2 separate regions of the Homo sapiens genome follow, and region 2 is linked to region 1. Evidence: promoter capture Hi-C in 16 types of primary human blood cells and fetal thymus (Javierre and others, 2016). All regions are on one chromosome and are shown on one strand. Each heading gives the region's core, a stretch centred on a gene start or on the middle of the fragment in contact. The rest is flanking DNA. Distances are from core to core; before and after follow the strand shown. Region 1 holds the start of ERBB4 (erb-b2 receptor tyrosine kinase 4). Region 2 overlaps ERBB4 (erb-b2 receptor tyrosine kinase 4).

Evidence for each region. Contacts are between HindIII fragments. The CHiCAGO score rates a contact against its expected background, and 5 or more counts as called.
Region 2: a contact is called between a fragment that was not itself captured here and the fragment with the promoter of ERBB4 in region 1, in 2 of 17 cell types (fetal thymus and endothelial precursors). The highest score is 7.6, in fetal thymus.

The regions. Positions count from the first base shown.
Region 1 is chr2:212,536,820-212,542,004 of GRCh38, reverse strand. It overlaps ERBB4 (erb-b2 receptor tyrosine kinase 4), which reads left to right and starts at 3,203. Exons shown (of 28, transcript NM_005235.3): 1 at 3,203-3,556. The coding sequence starts at 3,475. RefSeq lists an enhancer at 4,172-4,672. The HindIII fragment of the contact is 6,206 bases long and covers 1,517-5,185 here.
Region 2 is chr2:211,756,194-211,761,378 of GRCh38, reverse strand. The region is part of intron 4 of ERBB4 (erb-b2 receptor tyrosine kinase 4); the gene reads left to right. Among named protein-coding and RNA genes, the nearest start is that of MIR548F2, 670 kb to the left of the region's middle. The HindIII fragment of the contact is 671 bases long and covers 2,285-2,955 here.

The DNA.
Region 1 (5,185 bases), core at 1,954-4,453:
GGCCTCTAACAATCCAAGTATCATGTCCTTTCTACATCAGCTAGTAAATATTCCCTACTCTGGTATTTGTTTCTTATAATGACTTAGATGAGATGGGAAGCAAATGAGGGTAGACACTGAAATAACTGATTCTTGACTTGAGCTCATGGCTTCTTTCTCATCCTTTGGCTTGCCCATACAGGGTACTACCTTCCTGTCTACATTTCAAATTATCTGAGCTGGAATCTGATTGGGTAGACAAGGCACCATCAAATATATCATGCTTTTTTTGGCAAAAGCTTTGATGTCAAATCATTTTATAGGCTGCTGTTCAGATACCCATCTGTGGCCACATATCTAAAATTGTTGTTTCAATGTTAGAATGAGTAAAATGGGGATCAAGGCAGAACAAACAGAATTAGAGGGAAACTGTGGGTATGTTGGGTAATGTAATAGGTGAATCCTTGTATGGGCTGTTTAATATCCACAAAAATATATACTAAGTGTTTTTTTAAACCAATGAATATTAATGGAAAATCCTCCTTTGTCAAGAATTATTCTAGAAGATATGGGTGAGAGCAGGGCATATAGAAGATATTCTGTTATAGAAAAGCTATAAAATTGACAGGGGAACAAAAACTAACATAATTGGCACAACTATAAAAAAATCCAAAATATTCAGGCCATGAAGTTTTTGCCCTACAATTTAAGCGAAAATATGCAACTCATTTATTCACTTTGTCTTTTTTTTCTTTTTCTTTTTCTCTCTTTTTTTTTTTCAGAGATAGGGTCTTGCTCTATCTCCCAGGTTGGAGTGCAGTGGCATGATCATAGCTCACTGTAACTATTAACTCCTGGGCTCAAGCAATTCTATCCCATCTCAGCCTCCCAATAGCTAAGACTACAGGTGTGCACCACCATACCCAGCTCATTAAAAAAAAAAAAAAAAAAAGGTAGAGTTGAGGTCTCACTATGTTGCCCAGGTTGGTCTGGAACTTCTGGCCTCAAGGGATCCTCCCACTTCAGCCTCCCAAAATGCTAGAATTACAAGCATGAGCCACCACACCTGGCCCATTCCTTCACTTCGTGCAACATAATTGCCATCAGAAACCAGACTTTTTTTTTTTTTTTACTACAGAGACTTAAACTTTTACAAAAGGAAGATGTTTTTCTCATTTAAATTGTCATTCTAGGGACAGAAAGTAAGTTTTGAAAAGAAGTAGCTTTTATGGAAGAGAGGTGCCTGAGAATTTCAAAAGGATTTAAGACAAGGGGAATGAGAAGAGATTGAATGAAAGAAGAGAAAACAGAGAGAAAGAGTAATTAAAAAAAAGAAAAGAAAAGAAAACAAAGATAATCCCAAAGAGCAGTGTGCACAGTTTTGCTGCAATCAGTACCATTCTGGTCAAGTCTCCGTCATCTGCTCTAGGCTTAGTTCCTCTCTGCCCTAGGCTGCTTCTGGTAAAACCGCACGCTCAGCTTGTTGGGCGTCTTCATGGAGCCTGTTATTTGCTGTGGGTCTAAGAAAGGGAAAGCTTCAGGCTTCAGGCATCTGTACCTCCTATCTGTTCTCAGCTCCATGGAAATTCTTAAGGGATGGGGCTATAGATAAGAGAGTGGGAAATGGAGATCAAGGTCTCAAATGAAAGGCAGGGTGGTTTGATTTTTAAGCTCCCCTGATACTTTTTATTTATATATTTGCTGCTTCTAGAAAAACCAAAAAAGGAAAGTGATTCATACATAGAATGCCTGTACAAATAGCAAACCAATAACTACCCCCAGCAGATTCTGGCCCTTGCCAGGGTGCGGTTTCAGAGCTGTAAAAGGCAAGGGATATGTACATTGAAATGACCCAGTCCCAGAATATTTTAGATTCAGAAAAGGTCAGAGACTTTCGTAACTAGCAATGACCTCCAGATTAGGGACCATGAATGTGCAGAGTGAGGACAAGGAAGGGGCCTAAAGCTGGGTCTACTGTAGAATAAACAGAATCATTTAAGGTTAATTATGTTCTGATGTGGCCTCCTTAAATTCTTTCAGGCTGGGGACAATTTCTAGCCCTTTAAGATCAAATCAGTGGCTTTGGACTAGAATCTGCTTAATAAGAATGAACTCCAAAGGTGAAAAAAAAACATAAAATCTAAAAATCAAAGGATATGCCTTTATAAATGTGAAAGTTTAGTTTGGCTCAATGTTGGTCAGTTTAGAAATGTGGGAGTAATCGGAGAGATGGCATAACTGGGGGCGGGAGGCGGGGCGGTGATTATACCCCTACCACTACCTAATCCTCAGGGGCTACCAGTTACTTGCTGTACACACTTTTAAAGTACTTTCTAATTGTGGACCATGAGTGGCAGAGTACTGCGGGCGGAGGCTTTTTGCTGAAAGCAACATTGACTTTTATTTCTAGGGAAAGTCTTGTCTGTAGATGAGCACCGTGGGGCAACGGAGAAAATGCTGACTTTCTTGTTTAAAAAAAAAAAAAATTTCCGTAAGCGGCCCTCCAATGGTCCGTCCACTCAGCAGGCCAGCTGTCCCAGGCCTCTGCCAGGGAGGGAAGACGAGTGCTTCAGTGCATGGCTTCGGTGAGCCCTTTAAATCCAGCTTCCCCTGCCCCCACCAAGAGGCTCCCTTTCCCTGACAGGTGTTTTCCCAACTCCGGAGGCCCAGGATTTTGGGGAGTGGCTGAGCCAATAAGATTTCCCTTTGGAAGGGGGGGGGAAGGGCGTGGCTAGTTGGGTCAGAGCATGGGCGGGGTTTGCGCGGCTGAGCAGAGCCGGCCTGGTTGCGTGGAGGGTTGTTTTATTCCCACCGCCCCCCGCACCTTTTTTTTTTTTTTTTCTGGAGTCTTATTAATTTCTCTGTGGGCTGCAGCTGGAGACCGCGGAGCGCTGGAAATGACGCTCGGAGCTTTAATTACCGCAGCCGCCGGACAAGTGTGAGGAAAGCTGAGAGGAAAAAGAAGGACGGGATCCGGGGAGAAGCGAGAAGCTCCCCCCGCCCCGCTCCCCTCCCGATTTGGACTGGAGGTGCAAGGAAACTGAAGAAGGAGCAGAACATAGCCCGGCTGCGGGGAGAGGCCGGAAACCTACCGCCTCTTTGCAATCAACTTTTTTTGGAAACCTTTCGCCCCCCTTCCTTTTTTATTGTTGACCAACCAGTGAGAGAGAGAGAAAGTGAGGAGGGAGCGAGCAAGCGAAGGCTCACGCGGGGAAATAGCTGCACAGTCCGGCCCAGAGCGCCAAGCGCACACACCGAGCACACTCCCACACGCGCACACACGCGCTCACACTCGCCCCCTCCTCGGGCCCCGGCCCTGGACCCGCGGGCGCGGACTCGGTCGCCCGCCCTGGGAGTCGCCACACCGCGCGCGCCGCGCCCGCCCCCCTCGCACCCCCACGCGCGCCCGGCTGGGGGATCTCCTCCGCGTGCCCGAAAGGGGGATATGCCATTTGGACATGTAATTGTCAGCACGGGATCTGAGACTTCCAAAAAATGAAGCCGGCGACAGGACTTTGGGTCTGGGTGAGCCTTCTCGTGGCGGCGGGGACCGTCCAGCCCAGCGATTCTCAGTCAGGTGGGTTCCTTCTGGCACTCCGGTCGCCGAACCTGCAGCCGCCGGCGGGGCTGCCTCGAGTGGCTCCCCTGCCCTCTTCACCCATCCCGGGAGGCGTGGAGGGACCGCTTGACCGGGGCCTCTTCCCTGGGCTTTCGGTCACCCCTCTTTCCATTTGAAACTTACCCTGTATGTGTGCGTTTGCTTTATTTATCGTGAAAAATCACTCTGAGTCCCTCTTTTCTCTCCTTAACCCCCTGCTTTTCTTTCCCGAGCGTTTTGTTTGGGAGCCTAAGCGGGATCCCTTCTGGTGGCGCCTGTTGTTCGGGACATGGGAGACCCAAATCCCCAGTCAGAGGAGACTCTTCTGTCCCTGTCGGGTCCCCGAGGGCAGAACCCGCACCGCCGGGGCCGCGGTCCTGGGGCGGTGCTGGCTGGGCCTCTCCCGAGCCGAGCCCGAAGGGCGGTGGAGAGCGGCGCTCAGAAAATCGGGCTTTGCACCTGTGTGTGCTGCTGGCGACCGCTGCGCCCCCAGTCGCCCGAGCCTTGTGGCGTCAGACGCAACTCGCGCCCAGCCCGGGCAGCCGGAGTGCAGCAGGCGGGCGCGCCTCGGTCCGGGGCCCGGAGTTCTGGGCCTCTTCCGCCGGCTTCCCGGAGCCCTCTCCCCATTGACTTGAGGGGCGCTTACTCGCCTGCCTGACCTCTTAAAAAAAAAAAAAAAGGCTTGGCACACTTGAGCCAGAAGCCCGGCCTTCCCGTCGGTTGCCGTGTTTGGCTCCGGGAAGAGTTCTTCCTGTAGTTCAACTTGCTATTGGCCGGAGTCCTTCAAACTTGTCTGTTTACTGCCCGGCCAGGCTGCCGAGCCTGCGGGTCACTGGATCCACCCGAGGCGAAAGCGGCAGCGGCGATGGGTGCGCGGCCACTGCTTGCTGGAGAGCTCGAGCCCCAGGTACCTGGGCAGGCAAAGGGCTAATTGACCCCGAGAGGCAGCGCGGCGGGGCTGGCCCGCCACGGCTTGCAGGACTAATGACAGCACCTGCAGTGCAATGGAGCTCAAAGTTTCTGACACTAGAGTTTCCTGGGGATGAAAGTGGGACGGGAGAGGTCTGAGGAGGACCGGTGTCTTGACGTGGCCAAGGGGTGCCTTTTGGAGAGCCAGAGAGATTTCCGAAACCATCCAGGGATGGTGACTGGAGCGTGGGAAGTAGCTTGAGGTGATAAAGCCCCCGGGAGTGGCGATAGGGAGCGCTTTAGGCCCCCGGAGGGTGTCCTTCTGACCTCACCAAGAAAACGGCTAGCTGTAGTTTTCCCGCTCCGCCGCCGCCGCCGCCGCCGCCTCCTTTGCCTAGTAAATAACAAGTTACAATTATCGAGTCTTTCAAAATGACCTTCGAATGGCACATGTGAGGCGTTTGTGCTGGCCGTTTGCACCCTCCCAATTACTCCGAAATTCTTCACGCATACCAGGTCCCGCGCTCCAGCCACCTCCGGAATCACACCAACACGGACTTGACATTCCAAGCGGCCTCTTAGATACATCTCTTTTTATCTCCCTCCCCACTTCGAGTCCCTTCATATTTTCCCTCAATGGGTTGATTATGCACATTGACCCATTCAAAGGCATTGGCGACCGACATGCAGGCTTAGCCG
Region 2 (5,185 bases), core at 1,371-3,870, 780 kb after region 1:
TATCCTTCTTTGCTGTGGATGTTATATAATGTACTTTAGCTCTAAAACATCACCATCAAAAACACTTCTAGAGTTCTCAGTCATAGTATGTTAGGAAGTGTGAAGATTAATTAAAATTTCTACCTTTAAAAAATAAAAATAAGGATGCTTTTTATTTTCTTTTTTCCTTTTTTTTTTTTTTTTTTTTTGAGGAATCTCACCCTGTCGCCAGGCTGGAGTACAGTGGCGCAATCTCAGCTCACTGCAACCTCTGATTCCCTGGTTCAAGTGATTCTCCTGCCTCAGCCTCCTGAGTAGCTAGGATTACAGGCACGCGCCACCACGCCCAGTTAATTTTTGTATTTTTAGTAGAGACGGGGTTTCACTATGTTGACCAGGATCTCCTGACCTCGTGATCCGCCTTCCTCGGCCTCCCAAAGTGCTGGGCTTATAGGCGTGAGACACCACGCCCGACCCATTTTCTCACCTATAAAATAAAACAAATGGTAGTACTTATGCTATCATGTTGTTGTGAAAATTAAATAAGATAATGTATATAAAATACCTACTGCGCTGTGCAGAGAGTAAAGAGTGCTCAGTAAGCATTAGATGATGTGGTGAGGTTGATGATGTTGATCATGCTGTATAGATTGGAGTATGCAGTATAGTGTACACCTCCATTTTTAGGATAAACATTTAAGTCCAAAGTATAAAAACAAAGTGAAATAAGTTAACTAACCTGCCTGAGGAATGACACAACCAGTAACAGGTGAGATTTGAAATTCTAATGTGTCTCATGCCAGAGAGCCTTTATGTAAGAGTACATATCTGTTGATACTTACATGAAATGTTGATTCAGAACCACAAATGCAAGAATTTACATTGATCCTATTAAATATCATAGCTTTAATTTCAGCTTATTGTTCCTTCCACCAAGTTCTTCCTAAATCTGAATGATTATTCTCCATAAGAGTATTCACTACCCCTTCCAGATTTGTGTCATTTGCAAGTATGATAAGTGTATTTCAAACATTTTATGCAACTCAGTGACTAAAAGGTCAAATATGATAGATGTGTACAGAAGCTTTTGGCACACTCCTGGAGCTAGGACGTCAATCCAGGCCAATTAGCACATCATACTTTTATCAAATGTTCTGATACATGTGCCAGTCATCTACAAATCCCCTCATCTATTTCAGATCCCATCAGTGTTTTACACAAGGACACAATGAAACACATGGTCACATTCTTTCTATTGTTTAAGTAATCTTTTAATGAGCTACAAATCTGCTGAAAAATATGATGTGAAATTAGTGGTATTTTCTTAATGTGTATTTTCATTAAAAAATATGTATTTATCTCCTACATGTACCAGTGAAAATATCTCATAAGGCAAAATAGTTAATTGAATTTTGGCATGTCTATATGACGGAAGGTAAATCTACCAAAGAAATAAAATTATATTTATTTAATATCATCCAAAATGTTTAGGATAAAAATGTAAACTGAAAATAGCAGATGACAAAACTGTATAAAGTATTACATCGTGTTAAAATGCAACACACACACACACACACACACACACACACACACTCTAGAAAATGAAAAACACCAAAATTCAAGGTTATGAATTTTTTTCTTCTTTCATGTTTTTATGCATTATACAGCATTTCCAATTTGAACATCTATTAGAAATAAAATCTAGTAAATCTATCTGGAATGTTTGCTATTTAAATGTAGTGGGTCAGGGGAGTCATGGAGAGGTGACATCTAACAAGAGCAAGTTAGTGGGTAAACCTGCTTTATAGGCTCTTAGAGGAGGAGAGGAAGAGGAAACAGAAGAACCCTAAGTGGGAGTGAACCTTGTATGTCCTAGGAACAGCAGGAGATGACAGTGAGAGGAGTAAGCCCGGAGGAAAATACTGAGGCAGGGAGGAGAGGGCTACGTGTTGTAGGTCCTTGAAGACTGTGGTAAGGACTTTGGCATGTACTATGAGGCACATGGCAACTTAGGAGATTTGACATGGTCTGACTAAAAAGATCGCTCTGGCTAATATATTGAGAAGAGATTGTAAAGGGGCCAGGGTGGAAGCTAGGACACCGGATAAGAGGTTATTGCATTAATCCAAGCAATAGATGATAGTGGTTTGTATTACAATGATAATGGTGCAGGTGGTGAGAAATGATTGGATACTAGACAGATTTTGAAGTTAGAGACAACGAGATATGTTCATGAATTTGGATCTGGGCTGTAAGACGAAAGAAAACAGAGCTGAGGATGACTCCAAAGTTTTTGGCAGAAGCTTCTGAAAGAATTGAGCTGCTATTGACTGAGATGGGGAAGACTGTACAGGAATAATTTGTATGATTGGAGTGGGAAGAGTATGGATTTAGTTTTGAACATGTGTATTTTCAAGTGCCTGCTAATTGCACAAGTGGAGATGGTTCGTAAGCAGTTGGAAGTATAAGTTTGCATATCACAGAGTCTAGACTGGACATACAAATTTTGGAGAGTGCCAGACTATTCAGGTTATATGAGGATTAAATGAGTTAATATATCCAAAATGCTTAGAACATCCTTGGAAGGCCCACCACTACATATAGCTGAACAGGTTGTGCACTGCACACCTCCAAGGGTTATCATGTAGATTGAGTACATCTGAAAGATGCTTCTGGACACCCTTGGTGGCTCTGGCAAGCTCATAGTAAGTGCTCATTATTATTGTTGTTATTGGTTTCAAAAAGCTGACACATCTCAGTATATTCTTTATGTTTTCAGGTAAGGTTTTTCAGTTAGTTCAGACCCCTTATTTATATGCTCAGAAATACATTTGACATTGATTGGAACTAATTCTGTTCCACAGTAGGTGGAATTTCTGTATTCTACTTTGTGCTAGCAGCTATAAACAGTGATAATTAATGCTTTAAAAGTGCCTGGTTTGGAACAAATATATGACAGTATCATATATAAAAGCTTTTAGTCTTTTAGGAAAAATTTCATGTTTTATTATTTTGAGACATTTTGTTATTAACATATGACTTTTCCAAAAAGCATTAAGACCTTTTAATGTGATTTTCTTTGAAGTTCATTTCCATTGGTTTCAGTAGCCTAAAGCATTCTGAAGGCATGTTGGAAGGAGCATAGAATATACAGAACAGTAATATCATAGACAGCATTGAGCAGATCTTTCCATTCGGTGGGAAATAGATTGCATTTAGTATGTTCATGTTTATTTCATTTTTGGCATAATATGTATTAGGTTATTTCTAACTGTTAGTCCTTCTTACAATCACATGAGCTTGTACGTGTAAGTGATAATCGACAATCTTAGATCTAAATGGATTATCATCAATTTTTCTTTTAACTGTAAAATGGTGTTGCTCTATCTGTTCTCCTTAAATCTATATGTAGAAACAGTTCTATATTCAGCCTGCAAATGGAGTAGCTGGTTGCTTCCATTTATGAGTTAAGAGATTTTGAAAAATGGCACTCTCATAGGTCTACCCACCCCAGCCTGCCCAGCCTTTTATTTGTAGCTGTGGTTTCTACCACTGTCATGTCCCCTCATAATTGATCTATGTTTCCAGAAGGCCTCAGGAAAAATACAAATTTGCAAAGTAACTTTAGAATCTTCAAGCCTTTGCACAACTTTTGTGCCAGATTAACTGGCCTGTCCATTAGCTATCTGTCTGATATCCTGTCTAAGGTGATGCTGGAGAAGATACTTTGTGCACTGGCAGTCACAAATTAGCAGGAGGGAGTTGAGCCCCTGAGGGAGGGGTAGATGGAAGCGCTGCAGACACTTCTGTGCATTTTACACTTCTGTTTGAAATTAATCTTGATCACATGAGTATATATGCTGTTCTAAAATTTTGACTATAAATTGCTTGAATGAATATCATGATGATGCTTACAAAAACATCAAGTTTAGCAAGGTTAACCGTACTTATTTGTTTTTCCTGTACAGTAATTGCCTAATATATTTTGACCTCATAACTCCTGATGTAATATACTGTAAGATGAAAAATCCCAACGATAAATGTTTTTAGTTTCATTTTTAACTTCATATTTTTTAGCAAGGAAGAATACCTGCCCATCTTTTTGTATCAAGATGTATGAAAGTTAAAGTTTCCATTTTATACTTAGTTTTCAAATTAAGAGGCAGGATAGGAAAATTGAATTGAGACTGGAATAAAAAGTAAAGTCAACTCACATAACAGAAGAGTGAATACAAATAAACAGATGACAATGAGAATTGTCAGATAAGAACAAGTGGAAGTATTAACATCTCATAAAGAAGAGCAATTCCACATCATGGTAATGCCATTAATTCCTACTGATGTAGCATTTGCTCAAATCATATTGAGACTTTACTATTATATGAGTGGTTTACAGTAAGTTAAATGTGAAAAACAAAGCTATATGTATATTTTAGTACTGCTGGAGAAAGATGCAATTTGATGGGAATGTGTCCACAAATCAAAGAATAAACTCTAAGACATGAGAGACTGCTAGATTTTTACACTGCTTGTCTGAAAGTTTGGTTACCAAGCATCTGATCAGCTCTAATACTAAAGCATTGTCTCAAAATATGTCTATGATACTAACAGTTTGGAATTATATGCCAAGCCATTATCTTATATATACTTTTGTCATTTTGGAACCGTCAACCTCAGAATCTCTGGAAGTGCTTTTTAAAACTAGGGATTCCTGTACCTCACCAGACTATAAAATCAGCATCTTGCACAAGCTACTAAAGTGTCAAAACTAACTTTTGGGAAACATGACTCAAAACCATTTTCTACCCTACAGGTCAAACTATATCATTTTAATGTTCAAGGACCTTGGCCAACTCCATAATACCCATTAAACTCCATAATACACACACAGAGTAAACTCCAAACTGTTTAGAAGGCTTTCGTGATACTTTGTAAGCTCACGCTCCAGCTGCTATTACTCATGCAAACTATGCTCAAAAAACCCTAAACTACTCATTATGGCCCCAAACAGTTGTGCTCATCCATGCCTCTGTGTTATTGCTTAGGCTAGCTATTCAGCCTGAAATTCTCCTTCCCTTCCCTTTACTGCTGGACAAACTAGATTGTTCAAGCAAAACTAAACTGCAGAGCCTTCTGCAATCCTTTCTCTCCACTTTATACATACCTATATTTTCGCAAATATTATGGTCATAATAGTTACTTGCCT